2 separate regions of the Homo sapiens genome follow, and region 2 is linked to region 1. The links are contacts of gene promoters, found by promoter capture Hi-C in blood cells and fetal thymus (Javierre and others, 2016). All regions are on one chromosome and are shown on one strand. Each heading gives the region's core, a stretch centred on a gene start or on the middle of the fragment in contact. The rest is flanking DNA. Distances are from core to core; before and after follow the strand shown.

What was found. Contacts are between HindIII fragments. The CHiCAGO score rates a contact against its expected background, and 5 or more counts as called.
Region 2: a contact is called between the fragment with the promoter of C14orf93 here and the fragment with the promoter of PSME2 in region 1, in 1 of 17 cell types (non-activated CD4 T cells). The highest score is 5.0, in non-activated CD4 T cells.

Annotation. Positions count from the first base shown.
Region 1 is chr14:24,144,721-24,147,861 of GRCh38, forward strand. PSME2 (proteasome activator subunit 2) reads right to left here and starts at 1,890. Exons shown (of 11, transcript NM_002818.3): 1 at 1,814-1,890; 2 at 1,488-1,520; 3 at 990-1,052; 4 at 659-745; 5 at 523-553; 6 at 338-435. The coding sequence starts at 1,861. RNF31 (ring finger protein 31) reads left to right here and starts at 2,778. Exons shown (of 21, transcript NM_017999.5): 1 at 2,778-3,141. The coding sequence starts at 2,979. RefSeq lists silencers at 1,936-1,995, 2,696-2,785, 2,816-3,045 and enhancers at 2,306-2,375, 2,513-3,013, 2,560-2,854. The HindIII fragment of the contact is 5,988 bases long and covers 1,571-3,141 here.
Region 2 is chr14:23,008,502-23,011,846 of GRCh38, forward strand. C14orf93 (chromosome 14 open reading frame 93) reads right to left here and starts at 1,642. Exons shown (of 7, transcript NM_021944.4): 1 at 1,600-1,642. LOC124903286 (a long non-coding RNA gene) reads left to right here. Exons shown (of 2, transcript XR_007064075.1): 2 at 1-483. RefSeq lists an enhancer at 1-3 and a silencer at 1,631-1,980. The HindIII fragment of the contact is 8,647 bases long and covers 278-3,345 here.

The DNA.
Region 1 (3,141 bases), core at 640-3,139:
TAGAATCACGATTTGAACCTAAGCAGTCTCTCTCTAGGGTCCAATCTTTTAAAACAATTCACTCACTATATCATACCACCTCTACTATGAACCCAATACAGCAGTAGGTTCTGAGGTTACAGAGTGGATACTGCACAGTCTCTAATTTTGGGGGTACCGTTGTGATAAGAGAGGTCTAACAGAACGAGGAGAACAAAGGGGATCTAAGCCCAAGGCACAGAAGGAAGTTTTCTTTTTCAGGACTAGGTCTCTGTATGAAGGACTTGTATCTACGGAGGAGTCCAGGGCCTCACCTTGTGTGTCTTCTCTTTCTGCTTCCCCCATTTCCCAGGCTTACCAGAATGCATTTCTCTTTGAGAGTCCAGACTTCTGGCTTAACCAGGGCAAGCAGGGACAGGACTTTCTCATTCCCAGGGAGAAATCCACACTTATGGACTGTGAGAAAGAGGGGATTCAGGCCCTTTCTCATCCAGTAGTCAGTGTGCCATCACCCCTTCCCTAGTCACCTCTTATCTCTCTTACCTTCTTTCTTCTCCTGCTTATCTGTTTCCATCTAAGGCAAAAAGGGGGGAAAGTAGCTTTAGAAAAGTCACAGAGGTTGAAGGGCTATCTTCTCCATTGGGTTTATAGTCCAAGTCCTGCACCCTGAGTGCCTCACCTCATCATCCTTGGGTGGAGGGTCTGGGATGGGGATGTCCAGTGGGGCCCGGAGGGAAGTCAAGTCAGCCACATTGAGGGAGTCCTCCTGCACAGAGCTCACTGTCAAGGGCTGCCCAACCTCTTCCCTTCATCCTAGGTCACAGCCTTCCCTCCATACATCCCACTTGCACTCTGCCTCCCAACCTAGGCTCATGCCTCACGCCATCCTAATGTTCCTAATCCACTATTTGAAACTATTCTCTGCATGCTGAATCCAGTTGTTAGCTAGAGAGGGTGGGCAAAGGGGATAGAGGACATAGGATGGGGCAGAAGGGGCCCACACTACTCACTTGCAAGAGCTGATTCAGGTATATGATTTTCTGTGGCAAGAATCTGTAGAGGAATTCCTCAGCCTGTGGGTTACATTGCAAGGGAGGGGAATCACAGAATATGCTCAATGAGATGTCTGACAAATGGAACTGGAAGGGCCTTTGGAAATCACTGGGTCCAAGACTTGCAAATGAGGAAACTGAAGACCTGAAAATGAAAGGACTTGCCCAAGCTGGTAAATGGCAGAACGAAGGTTAGGACTGTGATATTCCTGCTTTGGAAGCCATGGTTTTTTTCCTCCACATCAAAAGACGGGAGAAGTGCCAGAAGTCGGGAGAGTCATAAGAAAGGTCAGATTAAAGGTAGCTATCAATAATTCCGGGGTTACTTTGGGTGAAGGCTTGGTAAGGGAAGTAGGGTTAAGTCTAGGGTGACTTGGGGGGGTCATTCTGAGAGGCTGTTATCCTCAAGTATTGGTCCAAGATTCTGGGTCAAATCGCTCAAATCCAGAGACTTACCTCCTGGAAAAGATTCTGTCTGAAGACCTCCACCTACACAGAGAGCAGTACCCGGATGTTGGTTAAGGGTCTGGGTTGTCAAAAGCTTCCACCCACAACAGGGTGCCCTCGAACTGTGGCTCAGGCCTTTCTCACCACAAACTAGCTTTCCCTGGAAGCTCCTGCTCACTGCAGTCAGAAGGCAGGAATCTGGGAATCCCCGAGAAGTGAAGGCACTAGCGAGATTGGGGGAGTTCTCTGGCACTGCTTGGTCCCCTGAACCACCCAGCTTGGCCTCCACCCAAGAGGGTTCTATGACCCCTTCCTGGCCTCCGATTCCCCATTACCTGTTTGCGGGCTTCCCCGCTCAGGCGCACCCCACACGGCTTGGCCATGCTGCTTCAGTCGCTAGATCTCTGGTCTCCCGGCTAGTCGCCCGGGCTTTCGCTTTCACTCCCCAGGTCCAGGCCCGCCCCCCTCAACCCCGCCCCCTTTCTTCTTTCCGCCCCCCTCCTCCCGCTGGCAGGCCGCAAGCAGTAGGTAGCCCCTCAGCCATTCCCAGCCAGTTGCCACTAGGAGAGGCGGTGCTGGCTGGGTCACAGTCCAGGGGCTGCCCGAGGGAGGGGCTAGGGTAAGTGGGACCGCGGAGACTGGAGCGGGGGCTGTCCCTCGGAGAGGGGCGGGGCTTATAGCTAGGGCCAACTGGAAGTCCAGGGTTGGGGTAAGAGAGGTGGGAGTATGGCAAAGGGGGTATTCAGTGGCGGGGCTCCCCCAAGAAGGCTCGACCGCAAGTAGCGGACGGAGAGAGATCAGAGCGAGTGGGAGGGGCAGCCAGAGGGAGCGCCTGGGGTGGAGAAGGACTAGCAGCTCTTAGAAGAGAGCGGGCAGGGGTTGGGTGAGGGTCTTCCCTCTGCCTTCAGGACAGACCGGAGATGGGGCGGGACTCGCTCGAGAGGGGTTAGGGCCGGCCAGAGTCGGTTCCCCTGCAGGGTGGGACTTCCTCGGTGAGGCCCGGAGCGTACCGGACTGGTCCAGCTAGAAAAAGAAAGGTTTTGAGCTGAATAGGATAACCCCGCGCCTGCGGCTATCCGGAAGGGGTGGAACCAGATTGGGGGAAGGCGGGGAAGAGCGCTTGACTGAGGGAAGATGCTGGCGCGCTCTGAGGGAGGAGCCAGGAGCCATTTGCCTTCTCATTGGTTGGGACCTGGCCCTCCCTCTTGGCCGCGCCCCCTGGTTTCCTGACACCGCTCCAACCTTAACCTTAAGCCCCGCCCGTTCCTCCGAAATTGGGTCGCAGTCCCACCCTCTCTCCTAGTACTTCCTGTTCTCGGCTAACCCTGGCGCTGGGCCGGGGGCTGGAGAGTGACCGTGGTCTGAGTGACCTGGGGCGGCTGCGTGGGCCGGGGTGGGCCTCAAAGCCGGGCACCAGACGGGAGGGGCGGCGCTCGGGCCGCGCGCTGCCCGCGCCGGGTCCTGGCGGGCGGCGAGGCTGGGGCTGACTCCTGCCTCAGGATGCCGGGGGAGGAAGAGGAGCGGGCCTTCCTGGTGGCCCGCGAGGAGCTGGCGAGCGCCCTGAGGAGGGATTCCGGGCAGGCGTTTTCCCTGGAGCAGCTCCGGCCGCTACTAGCCAGCTCTCTGCCGCTAGCCGCCCGCTACCTGCAGCTGGACGCCGCAC
Region 2 (3,345 bases), core at 392-2,891, 1.1 Mb before region 1:
TAAATTCTACAGTAGATTTTTTTTTTTGTCTCCTGGTTGTCACTGCATTTGTGACATTCCAGTTTCTCCCTCAGCACCTCATATACCTCCTATGCTTTCACTCCAATCTGCGAATACAAATTTGGATACAGATATTTTCCATACAACTTCTAATGAGGAGATAGTGATTCTGTAACAGAATGAAGTGAAAATAGGGCTCCTATAACAGGAGGTTCTGCTCTGCGAGCCTGTTTTTCTCTAATTCATATACTTTTTTCTGTGACTCTTAGAAATGAGAAGCTTTCCATTCTAAAAATGCAACATGATAACCAAAAGGCATTTCTTATCCCTTCTATTATTTGCCTTTGCATCCTCTTGGCTCCCCATCACCATCACCATGAACAGTTTTTGAGAATTACACTTGACTGGATTTTTTTCCTGATACTTTGCCAGCTGTGGAGCTTTTCGAATATTCCAACCAATAAACGACCATTTTGTCAAAAAGCCAAGAAAGAACTTCCCTTCTGAACACACCAACCAAACCACACATAAAGGCCAAAATATACACAGCTGTACACTTAAGAACGTGAGACAATAAAAAGCAAAACCACTTAGGCAAAACAGTCACTGAAGGCTTTGAACCACAGATTCAATAAATTGCCTACTCTCATTTGCCACATGGACTATATACTCCTTGGCAATTATTTAATTATTCATTATTCTGATCCTTTAGGAGCAGAAAAATATAGTAAATGCACATAGAAAGTGCCTAAGTATGCTAAGCATAGGATTTCTTCTAAGCTCTGCTTTGCACACAAAATATTTTGATCACATTTGGGAAGACAACGGAAAAAAATTCACATCCTAGGGGATACTTTGCACACATAAAACCAGATATATTTATCACTTTTGAAAATAAAATCTGATATGGCACATATACACACATATTGTACATATACACAAATAACCCCAAGTTATAACTTTACAAATTTGTTTCAAGAAACACACACACACACACACAAATGTTCTAATGAAAATGTGTGTGAAAGACACACTGTAATTAAGGTCTTTCCCCCTTCCCTAGGGAAATGAATGTCTCCATTATAATATCCCAATATTAACTTATTGGCCTTGGACAAGTGCCACATCCCAGCCACTTGGTTTTGGTTCTGGGGGGGTGGGTGTGTAAAAAGCACGCAAACGGCTTTATGAGGGAGCCTCAAATCTCTCTGCTTCCTTCGATGTTGCCTGTGGCAGAAATTTACATTATCCCTTCAGCCCGCTTAAAAAATTCTGTACTTCCCAAGCGGCTAAATTTTTAAAGTCCCTCAACCACAAAAATCTACCAGTTCTTAAAATGTGATTTAAAAAAAAGAAAAAAAAACTATAAATTTGGCCGGAAACGGTTGTACACGGCCATCCTGCTTCTCAACTTCTTGGTATATTTAAAACCTTGACCAGGAAAAAGAAAGAGGAAGAGAGACAGAAAAAGAAATGGGGGAAAGAGCAAATTCCCCTTAGCAACAGTTTCCTCACCCCAACACTGCTACAGATCTCTATTTTTAAAAAATTTGAAAACACACACAAGATTAAGGAGGAAAAAAAATGGAAAAAGGATACCCGAAGGTCGTATGGCTCTTTGTATTCGTGTGTGTGCAAAAAGGAGGACTCGCGGAGCCCGAGCCGGCAAGCCCCGCCCCTCCCCGGACGCCCTCCCGGATTGGCCGTCCGCGGCCGCGGGGCGCCCCGCCCGCAAGCACACGCGCCGCGCCCGAGGCGCCAACCCCGGAGTTGGGGGCGGGGGGGGCCCTGAGGGCCGCCGGACCCCCGACCCCCAACCTCGCCTGGACCTTGGCAGACCCCTTTCCCACCTCTCTCCCTTTCACTTTCTCACCGTCCTGTCACCCTTTCCCATCTTTTTTTCTCAGTGAAACAAGGCCCAGTCACCAGCATAACAATCCAGTGAGCGACCTCCGGACACTTTGTTAAATTGAGTGAACTAGTCAGTAACATTCTAGACTGCAATTAAACATCAGGGACTTGGTGCGTGGGCCCTACTCCGGTTTCCAGGTGAAATGTCTCTGGGTCACGTGTGTTGCTTAACACCCCCACGTTTAAATGAACATTCACGTATGGAACATCTTTCTGAAGTCTTACACTTCAGCCCGAGCTCCCAGTTTATCTACCTGGCTCAGACCACATTCTCAAAACTAAAGTGGCTCCTCTTTATTTCCAGGAAGACAGCTGGTATACCTGGATTTTAAGCCACCCATAATCTGGTCCCACCCACCTATTTGTTATTTATTTATTTATTTAGACAGAGTCTCGCTCTGTCACCCAGGCTGGAGTGCAGTGGTATGATCTTCGCTCACTGTAAACTCCGCCCCTCCGCCCCCACCCCCACCCCCACCCCCACCCCGCCCAAGCGATTCTCCTGCCTCAGCCTCCCAAGAAGCTGGGACTACAGGCGTGCGCCACTGCACCCAGCTAATTTTTTTTGTTTTTGGTAGAGACAGGGTTTCGCCATGTTGGCCAGGCTGGTCCTGAACTCCTGACTTGAGGTGATGTGCCCACCCTGCCTTTTTTTTTTTTTTTTCAGTGATGTGATCTCGGCTCACTGCAACCCCCACCTCCGAGGCTCAAGCGATTCTCCTGCCTCAGCCTCCCGAGTAGCTGGGATTACGGATATATGCCACCACGCCCGGCTATTTTTTTTTTTTAAGTAGTGACGGGGTTTCACCATGTTGGCCAGGCTGGTTTTGAGCTCTTGACCTCAAGTTATCCTCCCGCCTTGGCCTCCCAAAGTGCTGGGATTACAGGCGTGAGCCACCGCGCCTGGGCACATATTTGTTCTTAGTTCCCTCTACGCTCGTCTTATCAATCTTGTATTATTCCTTTACTCAAGTGGCTTTTTTTTTTTTTTTTGGCCTGAATTATGCGTCTCCCCTTCCCTGACTGGTCAATTTTTATCCATTCTCTTTCAGCACAGACTGCTTACTTCCTTCTCTCCGCTCCCATCAACATGAATTTCATGTGTACTCCAGTTAGCGGCACGTAACTCTACCTTGATTCACATATTTTAGTAATTTCACTCCAGTAAACTGTTTGAGGTCAGTGATCATATCTTAAAATTGTTTTTCCATCCAGGAACTGTTTGATTCTTACTGCAGTAGCTGGCATAATTGTAGATATTTAGTAAACACTGACCAAAAAAATCATTTATTTATTTATATTTATTTTTGAGCTGGAGTCTCGCTCTGTCGCCCAGGCTGGAGTGCAGTGGCCCGATCTCGGCTCACTGCAAGCTCCACCTCCCAGGTTCACGCCATTCTCCTGCCCCAGCCTCCCGAGTAGCTGGGACTACAG